2 separate regions of the Homo sapiens genome follow, and region 1 is linked to region 2. Evidence: promoter capture Hi-C in human tissues and cell types (Jung and others, 2019). All regions are on one chromosome and are shown on one strand. The core of a region is centred on a gene start or on the middle of the fragment in contact, and the rest is flanking DNA. Distances in the headings are between cores, read along the strand shown.

The links. Contacts are between HindIII fragments. The study calls those that stand out against the background at their distance.
Region 1: a contact is called between the fragment with the promoter of CCDC124 here and the fragment with the promoter of SMIM7 in region 2, in 1 of the 25 tissues and cell types used here (dorsolateral prefrontal cortex).

The regions. Positions count from the first base shown.
Region 1 is chr19:17,927,548-17,934,436 of GRCh38, reverse strand. It overlaps CCDC124 (coiled-coil domain containing 124), which reads right to left and starts at 1,422. Exons shown (of 5, transcript NM_001136203.2): 1 at 1,389-1,422. RefSeq lists a silencer at 1,260-1,309 and enhancers at 1,390-1,579, 1,600-1,659, 1,806-2,344, 4,503-4,572, 5,203-5,302. The HindIII fragment of the contact is 29,527 bases long and covers 1-6,889 here.
Region 2 is chr19:16,654,757-16,661,393 of GRCh38, reverse strand. SMIM7 (small integral membrane protein 7) reads left to right here and starts at 1,250. Exons shown (of 5, transcript NM_024104.4): 1 at 1,250-1,309; 2 at 1,394-1,435; 3 at 1,947-1,999. The coding sequence starts at 1,284. It overlaps TMEM38A (transmembrane protein 38A), which reads right to left and starts at 255. Exons shown (of 6, transcript NM_024074.4): 1 at 53-255. The coding sequence starts at 176. RefSeq lists silencers at 188-437, 458-657. The HindIII fragment of the contact is 23,986 bases long and covers 1-6,637 here.

The sequences.
Region 1 (6,889 bases), core at 173-2,672, 1.3 Mb before region 2:
TCCACAGCTAGACATTTGGGCTGTTTCCACGTTGGGGCTTTTTTTTGTTTTGAGACGGAGTTTTGCTCTTTCACCCAGGCTGGAATGCAGTGGCACAATCTCGGCTCACTGCAACCTCCACCCACCCGGTTCAAGCAATTCTCCTGTTTCAGCCTCCCAAGCAGCTAGGATTACAGGCACCTGCCACCACGCCCGGCTAATTTTTGTATTTTTATAGAGATGGGGTTTCACCATGTTGGCATGTGCCACCATGCCTATCTGATTTTTGTATTTTTAGTAGAGACGGGGTTTCACTATGTTGGCCAGGCTGGTCTCAAACTCTTGACCTCAAGTGATCCGCTTGCCTCGGCCTCTCAAAGTGCCTGGATTACAGGTGTGAGCCACAGTGCCTGGCAATTTCTGCTGTTTAAGCCACCCAGTCTGTGGTATTAGTTATGACAGCCCAAGCTGGAAATACAGACACTTTTCTCTGTGTAGTAAACACTCACTCACTTGCACACGTCATTCAATAAATATGTACTGGGCACCTAATACGTGTGCGATGCTGGGGAAAGAGGTGGCACAAATGAGCTTTCTGCCTGCATGGGACTCCCAGAGAAGAGCCAACACATGCAATCAGAGTCCTAATAAGGACACGCAGGGCGCCGGGGAAGCCCGGAGAGGGCTTCTGACCCAGCCTGGGTCAAAGGGCTTCCTAAAGGAGACATCTAAGGAAAAGTCTGAATGAGTGGGGGAGAGCGCAGCCTGCACGCGGGATGCAGGAGGTAGGCTGGAAAAGGGGGCGATTTGTATTCCAGGGAGATGGGAAGGTGTGGAGGGCGTTAGAGCCGGGAAGCCCAATCTATGGGTCACACAAGCCCTCTGGGGTTAGTGAGGAGGTGGACTCCCCAGATGGCAGGAGCTGGGAGCCCAGGCGGTACCCAGGGAGTGGCTCAGGCTGGGCGAGGGGCACACTTAGAAGCGAATCAAGACCCATGGGGATTAAGACCCCACGGATGTGAAGGTAAAATAACAGAATACAAAATTCAACAATGCCTCCTCTAAGCAGCCCTCCCGGCTATCCCTTTTGAAGTCCCCCACCACTAATCCCCCTACAAGAGGCCGGGGGAGTCCGCGCCCAACTCTGTCCCTCTCGAGACCAGAAGCTGCCTAGGGGCAGTCCGGGGCCAGGTGGCCTCGAACATGCTGTCGCGTCGGGCTTCAATCGTCTAGTCTGGAAATGGGCATCGCCCCCAACTAGGTGCGGTTCAGACTGGACGCCAGAAGTGCTCCTGCCTCCCAGCACCCCTCCTCCAGCCTTCCCAGGGGATGGTCCCAGGCCAAGCAGCCCCCGCCCCGCGCCTCTGCTCCCCGAACCCGGGTTCCGCCCGCGCCGCAGACGCTCCTACCTTCTTACCCCAGCGCCGGCCCGGTCGCGCCTCCGTGACGTCATCATGGGGCCTGCGCGCTGAGCTCCTGGCGGCGCGCACTCATTGCGCCTCAGTACCGCCGCCATTTTGGTAAAGAAAAAGATGGCTGGGCCTCGGACCCAAGCCAGGGTAGTCAGCCACTTCTTTGTCTCTTCAAAAAGAGGACACTTAATACGCCCTCATTCCCTACGCTCATTTAATATGTTGATGAACCAGGAGGGGCGGGCAGAGGCGAAAATCTAGAACATTGCCTTTACCAAGATGGCCGATGCCCGGATGAAAGATGGCAGCTGCGACTACACACGTGGTCCGGCGGCTTCAGCCTGGAGCGGCCCGGCCGCCAGAGCGCGCCCGCGGTCCATGAGGGGAGGTGGACCCAGTATAGCCCTGAGGAAGCCTCTCCGTAGCTCTTCGCAATCCCTTAACGCTTTAAAAGTGCTTTCCTAGTCCTGAGTCTCTGCGTCCCACTGGTGACGCTGGGGCGGGGCTAGGAGAGGGGAGATAAATGGGGCAGAGAAATTAACACACACCGCGCAGTCCAGGTAGGGAAACCGAGGCTCAGAGAGACCAGGAATTGAGTTTGGCCAAAATGTAACCGCGAGTAGGCTCATAACCGCGAGTAGGCTCAAATTCCGTCTCTTGCTCCTGCCAGTGCCTCTTCCTGGATTGCTGACCTGCTCCCCACTTCTGCAATATTATTTATTAATTTTATTTAGAAATTAGGTTTGAGGCGCCAATTTGTCTTAGGCACTATACTTTAGATTTTCTGCATTTACTACTTCTCGGTGTTCTCAACAGTAAAAATGGCAGTATTAGGGGTCTAAGGTTACACTGGTCCTGACTGTGGAGAGGGAAAAGCAAATGCTTTGGGGGCAGTTCAGGTAGGAGTAGTTGACCACAGAGTCCATTCCCTAAAAGGCATCCCCCCAGCGACCTTGCTGGGACCTAAATCCCAGTGCGCGATGCACCTCCCCTGCTCTAACGCCTCCCCTGGGTTCCCATTGTCCCGCAAGACTCCTCCCACCTCCCACCCCATCTCCCTTGGCTTCCCTCACCCTCCCATTAGCTCTCTGCTCAGGTCGCACCAGCCCCCTTCTTACAAATTGCCAGGCGCAGTCTTGCCTCAGGGAGTTCCCCCAGGAATTTCCCAGGTTTTTCCGTGGCCAGTTCCTTCCCTTCAGGCATGAGACAGAAAGGTCTCTGGGTGCAGGGGGCTTAAAGTCGGAAAATCACATGAAAGATTATTATCCTGGCTGGTCGCAGTGGCACATGCCTGTGATCCCAACCCTTTGGAAGGCTAAGGTGGGAGGATCGCTTGAGGCCAGGTGTTTGAAAGCAGCCTGGGCAACATTATGAGACCCCATCTCGACAGAAGATAAAAACATTAGCTGGGCGTGGTGGCATGCTCATCCTCCCATTCAAGAGAATCACTTGAGCCCAGAAGTTGGAGGGTGCAGTGAGGTATGATAGCGCCACTGCACTCCAGCCAGCCTGGGTGAAGGAACCTCTCTTAAAAAATACTAATAAAGGCCAGGCATGGTGGCTCACGCCTGTAATCCTAGCACTTTGGGAGGCCGAGCCAGGCAGATCACCTGAGGTCAGGAGTTTGAGACCAGTCTGACCAACATGGTGAAACCCTGTTTCTACTAAAAACACAAAAATTAGCTGGGCGTGGTGGCACATGCCTGTAATCCCAGCTACTTGGGAGGCTGAGGCAGGAGAATCACTTGACCCCAGGAGGCAGAGATTGCAATGAGCCGAGATCGTGCCATTGCACTCCAGCCTGGGCTACAGAGTGCAACTCCATCTCAAAATAAATAAATAAATAATAATAATAAAGGCCAGGCGTGGTGGCTTATAGCTGTAATCCCAGCACTTCAGGAGACTGAGGCGGGCAGATCACTTGGTGAGTAGTTCAAGACCAGCCTGGCTAACATGGTGAAACCCCATCTAAAAATTACCCAGGCGTGGTGGCATGCGCCTGTAATCCCAGCTACTTGGGAGGCTGAGGCAGGAGAATCGCTTGAACCTGGGAGGCAGAGGTTGCAGTGAGCTGAGATCACGCCACTGCACTGCAGCCTGGGTGACAGAGTAAGACTCTGTCTCAAAAGTAATAATAATAATAATAACAATAAAATAATAATCGTAATTGTGACTAAAAGATGTGCCTGGGGTTGAAATAGGGTTGTGGAGGCCCACAGCCTGGGTGATCAAAGAGGGCTTCTCAGAGGTGGTGGCATTTAAGGAGAGCTCTGAAGCTTGAGAAGGAAAGAGCTGAGTGAAAAAGAGAGGGAAAGGTGTTCTGGGCAGAGGGAACAGTATATGCAAAGGTGAGGAGGTGAATATAAAGTGAGGAAGATAAAAGTAGCCCTGGACCACACACAGTCAGCTAGCAGTTGGCCTGGCAGTCACAGCTAAACTGTAGAGTTTTTTGATTGACCAAACCAATTTCACGGAATGTCCACATCAGACAGGGACACTCAGACCAGTCACACTTGGCCGCAGAAAAACAAAACCCTTCCGTAATCGAGTCTTAGCACAGGTGAATACAAGAGCATTGTCCAAACCACAAAAATGGCCAAACCTCCCCATCTCCTGGCCAAAGGGCGTGACTGCTAGTTTTCGCCAATTCCCAGCAGGTTCCCCCGCCTTCTAGGTAAAAAGATTATTAAAGGCCGGGCGCGGTGGCTCACGCCTGTAATCCCAGCACTTTGGGAGGCCAAGGCAGGCAGATCACGAGGTCAGGAGATCGAGACCATCCTGGCTAACACGGTGAAACCCCATCTCTACTAAAAATACAAAAAATTAGCCGGGTGTGGTGGTGGGCGCCTGTAGTCCCAGCTGCTCAGGAGGCTGAGGCAGGAGAATGGCGTGAACCCGGGAGGCAGAGCTTGCAGTGAGCGGAGAACACACCACTGTACTCCAGCCTGGGGGACAGAGCAAGACTCCATCTCAAAAAAAAAAAAAGAGATTATTAAAATACTTAGAGAATTGTCCCACTAGCTGTTTGCATACAATCCAGGGCAGAATCCCACTCCCTTGAACTCTCCTCGAATCACCCCACAGTTGCCCTAGTTCTGTAACACGCTCCTTCTCACTTTCTCTTTCTGAGATAAACAGAACCCCTTCTGGTGTGTCTTCCTTCAATGCATTAATCCATAAACCCAGCTGGGTTTCACTGCAGCTGTTTTTCTGGTGGTATTTGACATCAACAGGACTGGATGTCCTACTGAGACTGGGCTGAGACCTTCCCTGCCACCAATCAGTACCCTGGACTCAGCAAAAGTGCACCCATCTGAGGTCAGGCACGGTGGCTCACGCCTGTAATCCCAGCACTTGGGGAGGCCAAGGAAGGCAGATCATCTGAGGTCAGGAGTTGAAGACCAGCCTGGCCAACAGGGTGAAACCCCGTCTCTACCAAAAATACAAAAAGTAGCTGGGCATGGTGGTGTGTGCCTGTAATCCCAGCTACTCAGGAGGCTGAGGCAGGAGGATCGCTTGAACCCGGGAGGCAGAGATTGCAGTGAGCTGAGACTGCACCACTGAACTCCAGCCTGGGTGACAGAGCAAGACTCTGTCTCAAAAAAAAAAAAAATAGTGTGCACATCTGAGACCCTTGTGTCTCTATCTGCTTAAGGTGATTCTGCCTGTGGCTGGAAGGTAAGTTAATGCTGACTGGAGCTTCAGTTATGATCTCATTAGGGCCCTTCTGTGTAGGGTTAATTTCGTTTACTATTCTAGGAATGAGTTTCTCCACGGCTTTTTGGTTTTCTGATCAGCCACTCTGTTCCTTGGTGAAATTGTTTTCTCTCTCGACACCTCCTCCTGTGGACTGTCTCTTGTACAGGGCTGTATGAGTTTCTGGTGGCTACAGTAGCAAATGACCACAAACTAGTGGTTTTGAAAACAACAGAAATTGGCTGAGCGTGGTGGCTCATGCCTGTAATCCCAGCACTTTGGAAGGCCAAGGCAGGTGGATCTCCTGAGATCAGGAGATCGAGACCAGCCTGACCAACATGGTGAAACCCCGTCTCTACTAAAAATACAAAAATTAGCCGGACATGGTGGTGTACGCCTGTAATCCCAGCTACTCAGGAGGCTGAGGCAGAAGAATCTCTTGAACCTGGGGGGCAGAGGTTGCAGTGAGCCGAGATAGTGCCACTGCACCGCAGCCTGGGAGACAGAGCAAGACTCTGTCTCAAAAAAAAAAAAGGAAACAATGCAAATCAATTCTCTCATAGTCCTGGAGGCTTCAAGTCTAAAATCAAGGTCTCACTTTGTTGCCCAGGTAAAAGTGGAGTGGTGCAATCTTGGCTCACTGCAGCCTCGACCTCCTGGGCTCAAGTGATCCTCCTGCCTCAGCCTCCCAAGTAGCTGGGACTACAGGCCTCACCACAAAGCCCAGCTAATTTTTGTATTTTTAGTAGAGACAGCGTTTCACCATGTTGGCCAGGATGGTCTTGATCTCTCAACCTTGTGATCCGCCCATCTCGGCCTCCCAAAGTGCTGGGATTACAGGTGTGAGCCACCGCACCCAGCCAATTTTTCTACTTTTTGTAGAGACAGGGTCTCACCATGTTGCCCAGGCTGATCTCGAATCCTGGGCTCAAGTGATCCTCCTGCCTCAGCCTCCCAAGTAGCTGGGACTACAGGCCTCACCACAGAGCCTAGCTAATTTTTGTATTTTTAGTAGAGACAGCGTTTCACCATGTTGGCCAGGATGGTCTTGATCTCTCAACCTTGTGATCCGCCCATCTCGGCCTCCCAAAGTGCTGGGATTACAGGTGTGAGCCACCGCACCCAGCCAATTTTTCTACTTTTTGTAGAGACAGGGTCTCGCCATGTTGCCCAGGCTGATCTCGAATCCTGGGCTCAAGTGATCCTCCTGCCTCGACCTCCCAAAGTGCTGGGATTGCACTGTGGGTCCATCGGGGGAAACGTCGATAAAGAGAGGACGGGCCTAGACTCAGTAAGTCACCCTTGAGTCAGTGTTGATGGCCAAAGTATTCCAAAGATCTCCTTGGACCACTGTCCTTTGGGCAACTTTTCACCATTTCAAAATCTTAGAAGGAAGCTGTGCGCAGTGTTGTGCTTCTGTAGTCCCAGCTACTCGGGAGGCTGAGGCAGGAGAATCGCTTGAGCCCGGGAGGCAGAGGTTGCAGTGAACCATGATCACAATACGGCACTCCAACCTAGGTGACAGAGCCAGATCCTGTCTCAAAAAAACAAAACCAAAACCAAACATGTCTCTCTCCAATGGTACCTCACACTGGGGACAATTTAGAATTTGAGTGGCCACTGTGAGACTTTTCCACTGGAGAGGAGACTTACAACGGAAAGACAAAATTCTCATGAGGCGATCATCTGTTGTGTTATTTATTTATTTATTTATTTATTTGAGACAGGGTCTCACTCTGTTGCTCAGGCTGGAGTGCAGTAGTGCAGTCATAGCTCACTGCAGCCTCGACCTCCCAGGCTCA
Region 2 (6,637 bases), core at 1-2,500:
CCGGCCCGCGCCACCCGCTGCCGGTCCCCTCCAGCCCCCCGCCCCGGCTCACCTGGCTCATACTTGAGGTAGAGGATGGAGACGATGAAGTAACTGAGGTCGAAGACGGGGAAGAGCGGCACCCGCGAGAAGCTGAGCGCCAGTTCGCCCAGGCTCAGCGCCGAGAGCAGCTCCATGGCGCCCGCCTGCCCGCCTGCCGGGTGCCACCCGGGGCCCCGGCCTCGTCCGTCCCGCCGCCCGCGGCCCGGCGACTGCGCCCCCGCAGCTGGGCCCGCCCCCGCCCGCCAGGCGCCACCCCAGGCCCGGCCCCCGCGGGAGAGGAGGGGCGACGGCCCACCCCGGGACAGGTGGTGGGGACGCCCAGCACCACGGACGCAGCTGGACGGTCGGGCGTCCCAGGCGTTGACCCTCCTGCCATCGCTACCCCGTTCCGCCCAGCGAGGCGGGGTGCGGGGCACCCGTGCAAGGCGAGGGAGGCTGGGGAGCTGCCTGTTCTGGGGGCCCGTCCCTCACGGAGCCCACCCACGCGGGACGCCCGTTCCCAGGGGGCCGGATCGGCCAGGACTTTGTCCCCGTGGGCTCAATTAGGACCCCGATCTTCGGTGGAGCCCAGTGAGGACCCCTACGCCATGGTGGGACCCCATGAATCAGAACCCCTGTTCCCCGTGGAGATAGGTTAGGACCTCGGTCCTCTGTGGAGCCCCGTCAAGACTTTTCTGCCCCATAGGGTCCGTTCGATCAGGAACCCCGTCTCCGGTGGGGCTCTGCAAATCAGGACGTCTTGTGGGGGGCAGCTCAGTGGGAACCCCCGTTCCCCATGGGGCCCAGGAGGATCTCATTTTAGAGCCCAGTTGGTTGGGGCACCCGTTTCTAGGGACCCCACTGCGTCAGGACCCCGCACCCTGTGCAGCTCAGGAGTCAAAGGATTCCTTTTGTCCAGAAGCCCAATTTGGGACCCCAGAAAGTGAGTAGGAATTGCTGCCCAGCTAACCCTACGGCATCGAGACCTCACGCATGCGCGGCACGCTTCGAACGCGTGACCCAATCCCGCCCCCAGGAGACCCCGCTCCTCCCATTCTGGCTCTCGGGGCCTCCCCAGCGAGGTGGGGCGCTCGCGCTCCCCTAAGGGGGTCTGGCCTGCAGAGGGCGGGACCCTCCCAGCCTTGACCTTCGATTGGCCCAGCCCTCGCCACTGTTGCTTTAGGATTGGTCGGCTTGTGCTCCTCTCCCCTCCCTCCCTGGGGCTTCCGCTTCCGGTTCTGACGGACGCTTCGGCCGTAACGATGATCGGAGACATCCTGCTGTTCGGGTAATTAGGGGGACCAGAGGCTGGGAAGAGAGAGCCAGGCAGGACGCGGGGGCGCCCCTAGTAACTGTAATTCTCCCTCTGCAGGACGTTGCTGATGAATGCCGGGGCGGTGCTGAACTTTAAGCTGTGAGTAGGTCGCGGCCGGACTGCGGCTCCATCCGGGGAACCCGTAGCCCCGCCCTCATAAGCGTGATCTCGGCGCACTTCTCAGGCCCCGCCCCCAAGCCGCAGGCCCCGCCCTATCCGCCCTCTGGGCACGCCTCCAGCCTGGTTTATCTTCCTCGCCCCCCACCCCCCGAGAGACCTTAAACCCATACTCTCCGTTCCTTGGTTGTCCCTCTGTTCACCTTCCTGGAGAGCTTAAGCCCCATCCCCCAAGAAATAGCCCCACCGCGGACCTTCCGCCCTGCACCCGCACTGTCGGGCCACTTTGTAAACGGTCGGTGGCTGCTGACCTGGCTGTGATTGTCCGGGCAGTGGGGGCCCAGAGAAGGGTATTGAACGTCAGAGGTCACACAGCAAGTTTGCGGCAGGGCCAGGGCTGAAACTTAGTGTTTGTGGCCTTCTGAGCTGGGGGTCAGGGGGCTGAGGACTCTATGTCCCATTGAAAGTGGACACTGTCTGCTCCTCTTTGTAGGAAAAAGAAGGACACGCAGGGCTTTGGGGAGGAGTCCAGGGAGCCCAGCACAGGTAAGGTCTAATTGGATCCTGGAATTGCATGGTCCACTTCAGAGGACAGTTCTGTTTCGCCAAGCCCTACCTTCGTTTTCTTTCTTTCTCTTTTTTTTTTTTTTTTTTTTTTGACACAAGGTCTTGCTCTGTTGTCCAGGTTGGAGTGCAGTGGTGCGATCATGGCTCACTGCAGACTCGACCTCCTGAGCTAAAGTGATCCTTCCACCTCAGCCCCCTTAGTAGCTGGGATTACAGGTGTGTGCCACCATGCCAGGCTAAATTTTGTATTTTTTGTAGAGATGGGGTTTCTCCACGTTGCCCAGGCCGGTCTCGAACTCCTGGGTTCAAGTGATCCCTGCCTTGGCCTCCCGAAGAGCTGGGATTACAGGCGTGAGCCACAAGTTTTCTCTTTAATTGAGCGTGTGTGTGAGTGGGAGATGACTGAGAATGTGCTAGCCTTTCTGCCTACCTCTGTCATCTATTTCTTTCTCCTACCAGACCTCCCTGATGTGAGCACTCACATCACTTCCTACCGTTATAATGTTCTGTTATGTTTGCTGTCATCTGGCTAATGTCTGCCCCTCACATATGACTGTAAACTTCAGAGAAGAGGCCCTAGCTTGGCTTGTCCCATCCTTTGTTCTTGCCGTACCCGTCCTCCGATGCCTGTGAATGAATGAATGAACAACCTCACACATAGCTGTTGCTTTCAGAGTGCTGCAGACCTGCCACTTTTAAAATTAGATGCCAACATTAGATTTTTAATCAGGAGATTTTATATAAAAATTAAGATGTCTGATTTTTCTTGAAAAATTGGAACATTCTGCAACTCAAGATTCAGGAGAGCTGTTTGCATCTATTGAGTGTAGTTGAGAAGGACTCTGAGGAGGTGGGGCCTGTAGACTCTGCCTCATCCCAGCCCTAACCCCTTCATATGTCTATCATCTGCCTGGGCCCTGGAGGCCCCAGAATTTACACTTCCTGCTGAATTTGATTGTGTAACTATTTGGAGTCTTAAGGGGATCTGTACATGACTATTGTATCCATTCATTAATTCTTTCATTCACCAGATATTTGAGTACCTAACGCATGCTGGCTACTGTGCTAGGTGCTGGGGTACAGCAGGGGTAAGACAGATAGAGTGGAACTTACCATGGGGTGGGACACATGGTTTCTAAGCAGGGAATAGATAGTGACAGAGGTGACGTTAGGTGACAGAGGCAGGGAGTCACAGGATGGTGATGGGGTTGCCCTCCTGCTGGGGTGTGGAAGGGAAGGCCATTTGAGGAGGCGGCGTCACAGTCAAGGCGGTGGATGCCATGATGGAGCACTGCCCAAGGATGGGGGAACCCTGAGGAACAGAGGTTTTCTTCTTTTAGAGACAGGGTCTTGCTCTGTTGCCCAGGCTGGAGTGCAGCGGCACAGTCATAGCTCACTGCAGCCTTGAGCTCCTGGGTTCAAGAGATCCTCTTGCCTCAGGCTCCCAAGTAGCTGGGACTACAGGCACTTACTACCACGCCTGGCTAATTTTCTAAATGTTTTTTGTAGAGATAGGTATCTCGCTGTGTTAACCAGGCTGGTGTCCAACTCTTGGTCTCAAACGATCCTCCCACCTCAGCCTCCCAAAGTGCTGGGATCACAGGCATGAGCTACCACGCCTGGCCGAGCTGAGATTTTGAAGACACTCCAGCAGCTCCCCTTTTTGGGGGCCTGCCCTTGGGTGCTGACCCAGTTAGGTGCTTCCTGTTAGTGTTGCATTCTCCCTCCATTCTTAAAAGATAATGGTCACTTTCCCATTTTACAGATCAGGAAACTGAGGGTCAGAGATGTGGCTCAACTTTTTTGTGGCCACATAGGGAATCAATGAGAATCAGGATTAGAACCTGGGTTTTTCTGACTCTAGCGGTTGTGCACTCAATCACTAGACCATCTGTCCGTCTATCCATTGATCCATCCATTCATACATTGACTCAGCAGCCATGTGTTACTTAACCCCCACGTGGAAGGCACTACCAGGCCCTAGAGTTGCACTGTACAGATCCGAATCAGAGCTCCAGTGGGCGGGAGATTTGGCACAAAGTGGCAGGAGCATCAGTGACAGGGATGCCAGGCAGGGCACCAGTGCTCTGTCAGGAGCTTCCTGCTTTGCTGTGTCCAGTCTCCTTCCAGCCCAGGTGCTGCACCTGCTGCTTCCCCTGTGGGAGCTGCTCTTTGCCCTCCATCCTCTTTGCCTGGCTTAACTGTAATACCATAGTGGCTGCATTTGTTGAGAGCGTCATGCGTGCCAGGCAGTGTGCTAAGGTCTTCCTAGCTGCCTGACACCCCTATTGACACAAGAGGGAATGCACATAGATAGTGCAGGGATGGTCCCAGGTCACCAGGTCACCTGTGCAGAAGGACAGAGGCAGGATTTGAGCTCACATTTGTTAAACTGCCCATGTTTGAGGTCAGAACTTGGAGCTCTGGCACTTCCTCAGAAAGCCTGTTTTTTGTTTTTTTGTTGTTTTTTTTTTTGAGATGGAGCCTCTCTCTGTTGCCCAGGCTGGAGTGCAGTGGCACCATCTCAGCTCCCTGCAATCTCCGCTTCCTGGGTTCAAGCAATTCTCCTGCCTCAGCTTCCCTATTAGCTGGGATTACAGGCACCCACCACCATGCCCAGCTAATTTTTGTATTTTTAGTAGAGATGGGGTTTCGCCATGTTGGCCAGGCTGGTCTCGAACTCCTGACATCAGGTGATCTGCCCTCCTTGGCCTCCCAAAGTGCTGGGATTACAGACTTGAGCGACGGCACCCGGCTGGAAAGGCTTTTTTTTTACCTCCCACCCTTCCCCATGCACATGCCATGTTGGGTCTCTGCAGTGTGTATTCCCAGGACACCCAAACTTTCCCACCAGAGCAGTCACATGTGAATATTTGTTTAGTATTTCTCCTCCCCATATGCTTGTTGGGGCAGAGCCACCGGTCTTTGTTTCTTTCTGTATCCCCTGTATACTGCTGTTGCCTGGAATGAGTAACCTTTTTTTATTTTTTGAGACAGAGTCTCACTCTGTTGCCCAGGCGTGCAGTGGCGTGATCTCAGCTCACTGCAGCCTCCACCTCCTGGGTTCAAGTGATTTTCGTGCCTCAGCCTCCCGAGGATTTGGGATTACAGGCACGCGCCACCACGCCCTGCTAATTGTTTTGTAGTTTTAATAGAAACGTGGTTTCACGATGTTAGCCAGGCTGATCTCAAACTCGCGACCTCAGGTGATCCACCTGCCTCGGCCTCCCAAAGTGCTGGGATTACAGTTGTGAGCCACTGCACCCGGCCTGGAATGAGTAACGTTTGATTGGCATCTGTTGATGGTGGGAGGTCCTGTTTTCACGATCCTTCGCTAGGGGAAGGGTCTTGCTGAGCAGCGCCTCTCAAAACTTCCTGGAAACAGACCAAGCATTTAATGTTTCTAGTCTGTGCTGGATCAGCCCTGTATACAGGTTGTGCTGCACGTGACTAATCCTGTCGGCTAGATAATACTAGGCTCGTCTAAACCGTTTTCAGCAAGATGGTGTGTTCAGCACAAGCTCGGATGGAGCAGGGATGTCAGGTTGTCATCCCTGAAAAAGTAGAAATTTCTGGGCTTGTGTTGTGTATGCTGTACTTACCATGCAGCCCCAGTCTGCAGATACTTCGGGTAGCACCCTTGTAGATCACCTAATCTGGAGCCATTCTTTTTTTTTTTTTTTTTTTTTTTTTGAGATGGAGTCTTGCTGTGTCACCCAGGCTGGAGTGCAGTGACACCATCTCAGCTCACTGCAATCTCTGCCTCCCAGGTTCAAGTGATTCTCCTGCCTCAGCCTCCTGAGTAGCTGGGATTACAGTCATGCACCACCACACCCGGCTAACTTTTGTATTTTTAGTAGAGACGTGGTTTCACCATGTTGGCCAGGCTGGTCTCGAACTCCCGACCTCAGGTAATCTGCCTGCCTCGGCCTCCTGAAGTGCTGGGATTACAAGTGTGAGCCACCATGCCTGGCCTAATCTGGACCCATTCTTTTCATTCTGGAGGGCTTGAGAGGGAGAGTGATTGACTGGAAACCCTGGAAGAAGGGTCTAGAACCCAGGTCTCTGGAGTCTTCACGTACTAAATTGCCTTCCCTCGGAGGGGTTTCTGTTCCTTGGCATTCAAGGGGACCAGAGTAAGTCATCACCAAGAAACACCTTCCCTTTCACTTGCCTGAATTAGGATGCTTTCAGTTACAAACACTGCAAACCCAGCTCAAAGTGGTTAAAGCAAATTGAAACATCCAACAGAATTGTTTTCAGGCACCCTGGGTTTAGGTGTCAAACCAGTCCTTCAAGATTAGGGTTGGGGTTGGAGTTGGGGTTAGGGTTAGGGTTAGAGTCAGTATCTGACTCTCTGCAGCTCTCAATTCCCCTTTCTTTTATGTTGGTTTTACTGTGAGACTGGTTAGGGTTGGCAAAGATGACCCCAGAGCAGGGGTTGGCATGTTTTTCTGTAGAGGGCCACATAGTAAATATCTGAGGGCTTTGCGGGCCATATGGTGTCTGTCTGGCACAACAATGTGACTCAGCTCTGCTGTTGTAGTACAAAAGCAGCAGGACATGATATGTAAATGAATGGGTATGGCTGTGTGCCATAAAACTTTATTCATTGAC